Linked DNA regions of Homo sapiens: regions 1 and 3 are each linked to region 2. Evidence: promoter capture Hi-C in 16 types of primary human blood cells and fetal thymus (Javierre and others, 2016). All regions are on one chromosome and are shown on one strand. The core of a region is centred on a gene start or on the middle of the fragment in contact, and the rest is flanking DNA. Distances in the headings are between cores, read along the strand shown.

The links. Contacts are between HindIII fragments. The CHiCAGO score rates a contact against its expected background, and 5 or more counts as called.
Region 1: a fragment that was not itself captured here is called in contact with the fragment with the promoter of F2R in region 2 in 1 of 17 cell types (megakaryocytes); the score reaches 6.2 in megakaryocytes.
Region 3: a contact is called between a fragment that was not itself captured here and the fragment with the promoter of F2R in region 2, in 1 of 17 cell types (megakaryocytes). The highest score is 5.0, in megakaryocytes.

The regions. Positions count from the first base shown.
Region 1 is chr5:76,413,484-76,416,893 of GRCh38, forward strand. All of the region lies in intron 1 of IQGAP2 (IQ motif containing GTPase activating protein 2), which reads left to right. Among named protein-coding and RNA genes, the nearest start is that of IQGAP2, 12 kb to the left of the region's middle. The HindIII fragment of the contact is 1,469 bases long and covers 1,283-2,751 here.
Region 2 is chr5:76,714,597-76,718,036 of GRCh38, forward strand. F2R (coagulation factor II thrombin receptor) reads left to right here and starts at 1,530. Exons shown (of 2, transcript NM_001992.5): 1 at 1,530-1,799. The coding sequence starts at 1,712. RefSeq lists a silencer at 1,336-1,585 and an enhancer at 3,379-3,440. The HindIII fragment of the contact is 2,891 bases long and covers 1-2,773 here.
Region 3 is chr5:76,368,791-76,371,796 of GRCh38, forward strand. No RefSeq gene overlaps it. Among named protein-coding and RNA genes, the nearest start is that of IQGAP2, 33 kb to the right of the region's middle. The HindIII fragment of the contact is 3,807 bases long and covers 1-3,006 here.

The DNA.
Region 1 (3,410 bases), core at 767-3,266, 300 kb before region 2:
CTTCAGAATGGGAAAATTCTTAAGTTATCTATATGGAAATACTTCAGTCTATCAATTTGGGTGGGGACCAAATTAATCCTTGTGTCTGTATACTTAAAAAACTAGTATGTTCTATTGTTTCCAGATATAGCCGAGGTGGGGAGAACATTTGGACTTCTGTGTTGTATATTTTGCCATCTTGCAGGGGATCTTGGAAGTGTCATTCTGAAGTTACCAAGCATTCTCTTATTTCATTTAGGCTTCCAAGTTGAAGTTGGTCGTTGCTGCTGCTGTTGCTTGTCTAAAAGCCTGAGGGTTTATAATGCTATCTAGATGGGAAGGAGCTACTTGAAATGTGTTTGAATCTTTATGCTTGCTTCAGAATGTAGAGTTTGACTTAGCTACCAGGGTCAGCCAACCTTGTGGTCAACCCAGTCCTGTGGGAGTTTAGAAGGGAGGTGAGGAAGAGGAAGTACACTTGGTACACTGGGTTCACCTAACGTCCCTCAGGCCTCACCGCCTCTACAAAGTTAATGAAATTTTGTGTTCATAAGCTCAGTGAAGCTCAGCTGAGAGGACTAACTGGAATGTTGAAGCCATTAGGAATCGAAAACCTGGGCCGCAACTCACGTGCCCACTTTTTAAAAAAATTCTAGTACTTTTCATAGAAGATGTTTGCTAGTAACCCCTCTATTATTCCTCACCTCCCCAAAAGGGGACCATTGTAATCAGCCAGTCTTGGTCCTTGAGATTGTCACTTTTCTGTTTTTTGCCCCAGTCCTACACGAAGCAGGCTTCTCAGGGTGGGATGAGGAGCCTGGTAAGATAGTCACATAGTCAGCCTCATGAAATATGACTCCCCATTCACCTGCCCCCTAAACTGTGCTTCCTCAGGTAAGATCTAGTAAGGCAGCCCACCAGAGCCTCGCTGCATGTTGAACTCTTAGGAAGTTTGTCCAAGAAATGGTAGTTATAGAGCTAATACAAACATGCTTTTGCTCTCATTCTGTTCTCTACTAATGAGTTTTATTTTCCAAAAAGAAACAAAGATACATTTATTTGTAAAGAATATATAAGGCCGGATATGGTGGCTCAAGCCTGTAATCCCAGCACTTTGGGAGGCTAAGGCAGGAGGATTGCTTAAGGCCAGGAGTTCAAGACCATCTGGGCAACGTAGCAAGACCTTGTTTCTACAAAAACAAAATAAAAAATGAATATATAAAGATAATTTTTTCCTCCATGAGAACCAGGGTCACGTGAGGCCCTTCCCTGCTTTGGCACTGATTCTGGTGATAGTCTCAAAAGCTTCCTTCCTCAGTTCTCCAGTCTAATCTTTGCTATTAGTTTGAATTGGTTAACAGGTTGGAGGATTGTGCTTGCTTATTCCTCTTCACTGGACTCTGCCTGTAACTTTTCACATTAGATTAGGGGAACTCTGAGAAAGAAGTGGAGCTTATAATGTGCTTCTGTATTGTAGCTTTGATATCTCTGAAAACGTGTACCTTTCTCTGCTAAGCAGGACAAATAAGACAAACCAAACAGGGAGGGACATCCTCATCCTGTGGACATGTGAATATTTCTAGAAGGTTATGCAAATAATCTAGAAGGTTATAATATCTTTTTAGAAGTTGCCTTTGGGAAGAGGGACTGGGGGCAGGAGTGGGAATGCGATTTGAAATAGTTTTCACCATATGCCGTATTACCCTTTGAAAAAATAAAGCAAATGTGTGTTTTGGAAAAATATGTTTTGAGAATAATGTGGACAAAATAGAACAGCAGTAAAATCCATGAGGAATCAGGACTGTATCTTTTGGTCAATGCTGTATCCCCACTGTCTGGTACATAGGTCAACATGGCAGCAGTGATTCTGTGTAGGTAATGAGATATTTTGTGATTAATATTTTTTCTTCCTCAAATTTTCAGCTATACATGTTTTTATAGTTAGACTGTAACAGTTGAGTTGGAAAAATTGTAAGTTACCCTTTGCTGCTCAAGATACAAAGTTCTCTTTGGCTACAAACTTTGCCTTATGAAAATTAGTCTGAAAGATAGATCAGTTATTATTGGAAGGATTCAGTGGCTATCTAATTTTCCAAGTGTGTATGTGTGTACATGCATAGAGAATGAGGGACAGAAATGTTAAGAGGCCCAGGACTCTATAGCTGTTAAACTGTTGTAGTTAATAATTTGTGAAAGGGGCCAGGCACAGTGGTTCCCACCTGTAATCCCACCACTTTGGGAGGCTGAGGCAGGCAGATCACTGGAGGCCAGGAGTTCAAGACCAACCTGGCCAATGTAGTGAAACCCTGTCTCTATTAAAAATACAAAAAATATTAGCTGGGTATGGTGGCATGTGCCTGTAATCCCAGCTACTCCGGAGGCTTAGGCAAGAGAATCCCTTGAACCCAGGAGGTGGAGGTTGCAGTGAGCCGAGATCATGCCACTGCACTCCAGCCTGGGCAACAGAGGGTAACTGTCTCAAAAAAAAAAAAAAAATGTGAAAAGAAAGTGTGTAGGAAGCAGATCTGTAAAAGGTAGTAATGAATCAACTAGTGTCCATGGGGGAAATAAAGGTTGTGACACGAAAGTGGAGTGTTCTCTTGACTCACAAAGTGAACTCTGAAGAGCCTGTGAAGAGGTGAACTACTCATGACCATTCCTTCATTCAACAGGAGGTGCTAGATGCCATGTATAAGGTGGAATTTACATAGGGTTTATGACCAAATGCCTTCAGGGGTCAAATGTGATCACAGCCTGTATAAAATAATAGGAAGCTTTGGAGTGTCTCTCAGCTGGAGAATGCATTTGCTGCTTTCGTCACTCAAATTGGAAGGGAAACATTTGTGAGCAGTGTACAGGCAAAACAAGATAGATTAGTCTTGTTTAGCATCTTGGAAGCTGCCACTGGCCCCAGCATTATGCTGTAAAATGGAGGTAGCCATGGAAGTACCGTGACCTTAGACCAATGAGAGACGAGAAGCACTGTGATAGCAAGACCTGCATCTAGCATCTGAGGACTTAGACTGAGGTGCCACTTACTGTGTGATATTGGGTATAAGTTCTTTGAGCTTTTTTTTTTTTGAGACGGAGTCTCACTCTGTCACCCAGGCTGGAGTGTGCAGTGGCGCGATCTTGGCTCACTGCAGTCTCCGCCTCCCGTGTTCAAGCGATTCTTCTGCCTCAGCCTCCCAAGTAGCTGGGACTACAGGCGCATGCCACCACGCGTGGCTAATTTTTGTATTACTAGTAGGGACAGGGTTTCATCATATTGGCCAGGCTGGTCTCAAACTCCTGACCTCGTGATCCGCCCACCTCGGCTTCCCAAAGTCCTGGGATTACAGGTGTGAGCCAACACACCCGGCCTGAGCTCTTCTTTATTTTTGGAGACAGGGATCTTACTCTATCACCCAGGCTGGAGTGCAGTGACATCA
Region 2 (3,440 bases), core at 280-2,779:
TTTCTCCACGGATGTAAGTGTCCGGGCTCTAGTGGGGGAATGATACTCTTCGTGCGAAATTCACTTTTAAAAAAGGCTTAGAAAACTGACCACCGGCTCTCAGCTGCAGCTTATCAACCACAGAACTCCGAATATGCCCGCACATCAGTGCGCTGGGTTAAGAGGAGAAGGGGCTGCGGCTGAGCTTTCCTAGAAACAGCTATTTGGGGACCCATTTCCTGTTGGAGTCTGAAAGGCGCACGCACCAGAGCCAGTGGCAAAGCAACTTAAGCTGCAGGCTCCTCCTGCCCACCCCCAGCCGCGACGCCCCTGGGGGCCCTTAGCAGACTGCCAAGCGAGTGTCCCCGCCCTGTGCCTTGAATTTAGCCAAACTCCTTTAATATCAGGCCTGGCGCGGTGATTCACGCCTGTAATCCCCGCACTTTAGGAGGCTGAGGCAGGAGGATCGCTTGAGGCCAGCAGTGAAATTAGCCGGACATGGTGGCGCGCGCCTTTCTGTGGTCCCAGGTAATCCGGAGGCTGGGGCGAAAGGGTGGCCTGAGCCAGGGAGATCGAGGCTGCAGTGAGCCGTGTTGGCGCCACTGCACTCCAGCCTGGGCGACAGGGCAAGACCCTGCCTCAAAAACAAAACAAACTGTAATATCGTTCAAGAACGTGTGAAGGACACTTGGAAAGTTACCAGGCCATTTCTCTCCTGGGCGCCCGCGGCCCTAGAACGCCGGCCTCACCGGCAGACGCGCGCCCTCCTCCCAGATGCGCAGGTGACCCCGGCGGGCGGCGCGGGAAAGGGAAGAGCTCCGCGAGGCCGCGCGGGGGGGAAGCGGGAGAAGCCGCTCTTCCTATTCCACTCGCAGTCTGCGTGTGGGGGAAACGAGTGCCCGGCGTATGAAACGCCTAACTTCGCGAAATAAAGAGAGACGTATAAAAGTTCAAGAATTCTGTCCAGACTCAAGGGCCCTTTCTCATTTAGGGGCAACCCTGTCACTACATCATAAACTTTTAAATCCGTGATCCCCACGTTACAAAAGCAGAAGTCCCTTTTAGACTTTTAGCGAAAACTGAACTTTGCCGGTGTCCCACACGGAGGGAGGGAGGACGGGAGGCCACGCCAGGGCTGCGGGGCTGCAGGGCGTGGACGCATCCTGGCCGGGGCGTCCACTGTCGACGTCTCCACATCCCAGGAGGGTCGAGACGGCCGCGGGAAGCAGCCTGCGAGCCGTGCGGCCCCATTCCAAGGACCCCGCCAGTGTGAGTCACTGACAGCTTCGCGAATCAACGGTGCCCAGAGGAAAAAACTTCTCATTTGGACTTCTAGGCCCGGCAGTGGCCGGCGGCCAGGGCCCCCCAGTAGGGCAGGGCGGGGCGGGGCGGGGCGCACAGAGCCAGAGGGGCTTGCGAGCGGCGGCTGAGGGACCGCGGGGAGGGGGCGCCGAGCGGCTCCAGCGCAGAGACTCTCACTGCACGCCGGAGGGCGCCCTTCCTCGCTCGCGCCCGCGCGACCGCGCGCCCCAGTCCCGCCCCGCCCCGCTAACCGCCCCAGACACAGCGCTCGCCGAGGGTCGCTTGGACCCTGATCTTACCCGTGGGCACCCTGCGCTCTGCCTGCCGCGAAGACCGGCTCCCCGACCCGCAGAAGTCAGGAGAGAGGGTGAAGCGGAGCAGCCCGAGGCGGGGCAGCCTCCCGGAGCAGCGCCGCGCAGAGCCCGGGACAATGGGGCCGCGGCGGCTGCTGCTGGTGGCCGCCTGCTTCAGTCTGTGCGGCCCGCTGTTGTCTGCCCGCACCCGGGCCCGCAGGCCAGGTGAGAGATGCACGGGAATGGGGTGCGCGGGCGGAGGGACGCCGAGGGGAGACTGCGGGGGTCACTGTTGCGCCTTCTCCTCACCCCTGCCTCAGTTTCCTCCGAAAGCCAAACTGGCATTTGGGCTGAGATCTGGAGTTTTTTCCAGTCACGTTTAGGTGGGGCGTGCCACCCCCTTCGCGGGCCCAGCCGATGCCCCTTTGGACTCGATCTTGGAGGGTGCAGCCCGCCTGCCACGGGGTGTTGGATATGGAGGAGGATGGAGCGGAAGCCCCCTGGGGGAGCCTGCAGTCCTGCGTTGCACTTGTCATTGTGTTTCTCCCAGGACCACCCCCAAAAAGAAAAGCTCTCACGTTGCTCCACCAATAAACGTTTCGATCTTTAAAATATAAAGTGGCGAACCGCTGCCGCTGAAGTTTTGCTTTGTTGGAAGTTTTTTTCTTGCACATTTTACAGGCGAGAAAAGTGATGTAGAGAAAAGCCCAGGCAGTCCCTTGGCATGTTTAGCAGAGAATCAGTACCAGCAGCCCCCGGCCCGGCCTTGTGTCCAGGAGGTGCGCAGGGTGCGAGATATATGGTGACAATAGCAGAGGCTCCGCGTGGTGGCGGGGGAGGGGACATGGAGAGGATTTTGTTGTTACCTAGAACCCATTCCTTCTAAGTGAGTTGAAGAGAGAGATCCCTCCCCAGGACCGGGCTCCCTCGAACACTGTGGGATCCCAGTATTTCTTAACGAGATTTCTGATCCACTGCAAGAAGGTTGCTCCCCTAGAATATTTTCCCCACTAGTAGTCTATTTTTAAGTATCTGGCCACTTGACCAAATAAATAAATTTGATTAATTTATTTGGTCAAATATTTTCTGTATCCCTTTCCCCAAGAGCAGCACAGATGAGTTGTTTTTAGCCTGTAAAGGCGCTAATTAGAAAGTGAGAAAAGTGTTTTTGAATTTCCTAATAACAATAGTATTTTATAAGCTTTGAGCCATTTTTTTTACGCTGAAAGAAGTTCTAGCGGGTTTTCTTGTTATCGCTAAAAGAATGTGCACTCTATATTGCTCCCACACTCAAAAAAAAGTGTAGACACATCAAGATTAAGAGGTGACAAAGACATAGCATGTTCTCGCCTCTCTGTCTTTGTTCAGGGTGAGTTTTGAGATGCTTTTGGGAAAACTAAGAGCTCCAGACTGGGGCCCAGTGTTTAGCAGTAACTAGCCTGCCTGCAGATAAGTGAGCATTGTTGCCGAAAGTGTTTGAGAGAACACCGAGAACTCCTGAAAAATTGTTTGCGATGAGATATGATTTCACATACCATTATGTAATTTGCACAATGTAGTTTGAGGACACGCTCTTGAGAATCCAGTGTTTTGTTTGAGATTTGGATCATGGGGTGGAGAACAGAGCTTATAGAAATGCTGCACCCTTTCTCACAGTGGCCTCCCAGCAAGGTGTGTAGCCTCATTAGGGAGTGAAGTCAAAGCGTACTGGTTTCTGCCAAGCTTCTTACATCCTCATGGCAGGAGTGGTGCATGTTAATATGGACAGTGCTGGTGTAGACAGAAAGGCAGGTGGATGAACTTGGCTAGTTTATCAACACTGGATTCTGGAACCACTTTGGGAGGGAAAGAAGAAAGGAGTATGAT
Region 3 (3,006 bases), core at 66-2,565, 350 kb before region 2:
TGGTCAGGATGGTCTCGAACTCCTGACCTTGTGATCCGCCCACCTCAGCCTCCCAAAGTGTTGGGATTATAGGCATGAGCCACCACGCCCAGCCAGGACTTCTATTTTCTTCAAACATCTCTCTTGCTCTTGCTCTCTCTATTTCTCTTTTAGACCCACAGACCTGTGGTGTTTTCTGTCTGGAATACCCCCTCTACATCCTCTAGGCCTAGCTGAAATGTCTGCTCCTCAAGGAAGTTTTCTCAGACTCCCACACTGCATCCAGCTTCCTCTGTTATAAGCCCCTTGCTATTACACCTTGTACTTCCTCTTTCAAAATATTCCTCCTGTTTATAATTGTTTGTTTAATATCCGTCTTTCCTGTTGACTGAGGCTCAATAAAAGCAGGAATTTCTCTCTTGTCATTGCTGTTTCCTCAATATCTGGTCTAGCTCCTGACACTTAATGAAACTTAATAAACATTTATGGAATGAGTGAGCTTTTGTTATCATGCTATCTGGGCATAATATTTTTTATTTGAGAAGAATGAATGACCCCCAACAATCTCAATGTTGGGCAGAACCAAAGTAAGATGTTTTGGAATTGCACTAGTGGTAGGAAAAACAAAATGTTTTCCTCTGCTGTCACGCCACACAACAATAAACACAGAAAACTTCTGTGATGAAATGTGGGGGAGTGGCTGGGCGCGGTGTCTCATGCCTGTAATCCCAGCACTCTGGGAGGCTTAGGTGGGTGGATCACCTGAGGTCAGGAATTCAAGACCAGCCTGGCCATGGTGAAACCCCGTCTCTACTAAAAATACAAAAAATTAGCCAGGCATGGTGGTGCGCACCTATAATCCCAGCTACTCAGGAGGCTGAGGCAGGAGAATCGCTTGAACCCGAGAGGCGGAGGTTGCAGTGAGCCAAGATCGCACCATTGCACTCCAGCCTGGGCAACAAGAGCGAAACTCTATCTCAAAAAAAAAAAAAAAAAAAAGAAAGAAAGAAAGAAAGAAATGCGGGGGATTCTCCCCACCACAAGCAAGCAATCGATACCGCAGCAGACACCAGCTGGGTGCCCTCCAATTCAATTCTGACACTGTCTACCTGGAGATAGCATCAGATCCCACAGACCAAGGGCTCAGTGCCAAAAATTCAACTCCCTCTTCAGACACAAGTGACAAGTCCAGGCATCCAGAACCTCTGACTGACCAGCTTCAAGTTGGGATTCCAACAAACCAGTCTTTGGATGCGATTTATTTGCTAGAGTAGCTCACAGAACTCAAGGAAACAATTACTTATATTTACTAGATTATTCCTAAGGATATTTTAATAGATACAAATAAACAACTAGATGAAGAGAAACATAGGGTAAGGTCTGAGTGCAGGCACTTCTGTCCTCATGGTATTGGGATGGGCCACTCTCCTGGCCCTTGCATGAGTTCTTCTTAACCGTTCACCCTCCCGGAAACCTCCACATGTTTGGCTACCCAGAAGGTTTTTGTTTTGTTTTGTTTTGTTTTGCTTTGTTTTGTTTTGTTCTGAGACGGAGTTTCGCTCTTATTTCCCAGGCTAAAGTGCAATAGCACGATCTCGGCTCACTGCAACCTCCGCCTCCCAAGTTCAAGCAATTCCTCCTGCCTCAGCCTCCTGACTAGCTGGGATTATAGGCACTTGCCAACATGCCCAGCTAATTTTGTATTTTTAGTAGAGACAGGGTTTTTCCATGTTGGTCAGGCTGGTCTCGAACTCCCAGCCTCAGGTGATCCTCCCACCTCAGCCTCCCAAAGTGCTGGGATTAAAGGAGTGAGCCACTACACTTGGCCTTTTTTTTTTTTCTTTTTTCTTTTGAGACAGTCTGGCTCTGTCACCCAGGCTGGAGTGCAGTGGCATGATCTTGGCCCTCTGCAACCTGCGCCTCCTGGGTTCAAGAGATTCTCGTGCCTCAGCCTCCCAAGTAGCTGGGATTACAGGTGTATGCTACCATACCTGGCTAACTTTTGTATTTTTATTAGAGAAGAGGTTTCACCATGTTGGCCAGGCTGGTCTCAAACTCCTGACCTCAGGTGATCTGCCCTCCTTGGCCTCCCAAAGTGCTAGGATTACAGATGTGAGCCACTATGCCCAGCCTTATCCAGAAGTTCTTGAACCCTGTCTTCTGGGCCAAGTTCTTGAACCCTGTCTTCTGGGCCATTTATGGAGACTTCATTGGATAGGCATGATTGAAGTATGGATAACCTGGTTCAAATGTGATTGGACAAAAAGGGTATGATCTGGTCGGGCGCAGTGGCTCACGCCTGTAATCCCAGCACTTTGAGAGGCCGAGGCTGGCAGATCATGAGGTCAAGAGATTGAGACCATCCTGGCCAACATGGTGAAACCCCGTCTGTACTAAAAATACAAAAATTAGCTGTGTGTGGTGGTGCACACCTGTAGTCCCAGCTACTTGGGAGGCTGAGGCAGAAGAATCGCTTGAACCCAGGAGGCGGAGGTTACAGTGAGCTGAGATCATGCCACTGCACTCAACCTGGTGGCAGAGTGAAACTCCGTCTCAAAAAAAAAAAAAAAGGTATGATCTAAACCCAGCAAGTCCTGTTCTGTCTGTTCAGATTCTTCCTGGCCTCTCTGTACAGCATTTCTACCTCTAGGGTACGGGGCAGGACCCTCTCTGGAATAAGGGTCTCATGACCCACAATCAGATTAGGGTCCTGCCATGGGGAGGTCAAAGGAAGGCAGGGAAAGACCAGAGAGAGAGATATTCTTTTTACTGTAATAAGGGCTGTGGGAGTTATGAGCCAGGAACTGTGTATGAAAACCAATATGTGTGGCAGGGTGTGGTGACTGACACCTGTCATCCCAGCACATTGGGAGGCCAACACAGGAGGATTACTTGAGCCCAGGAGTTTGAGACCAGCCTGAACAACATAGTGAGACCCCATCTGTAAAATAATAAAAATAAAAAAATTAGTTGGGCATGGTGACATGCGCCTGTGGTCCCAGCTACTTGAGAGGTTAAGGTGGGAGG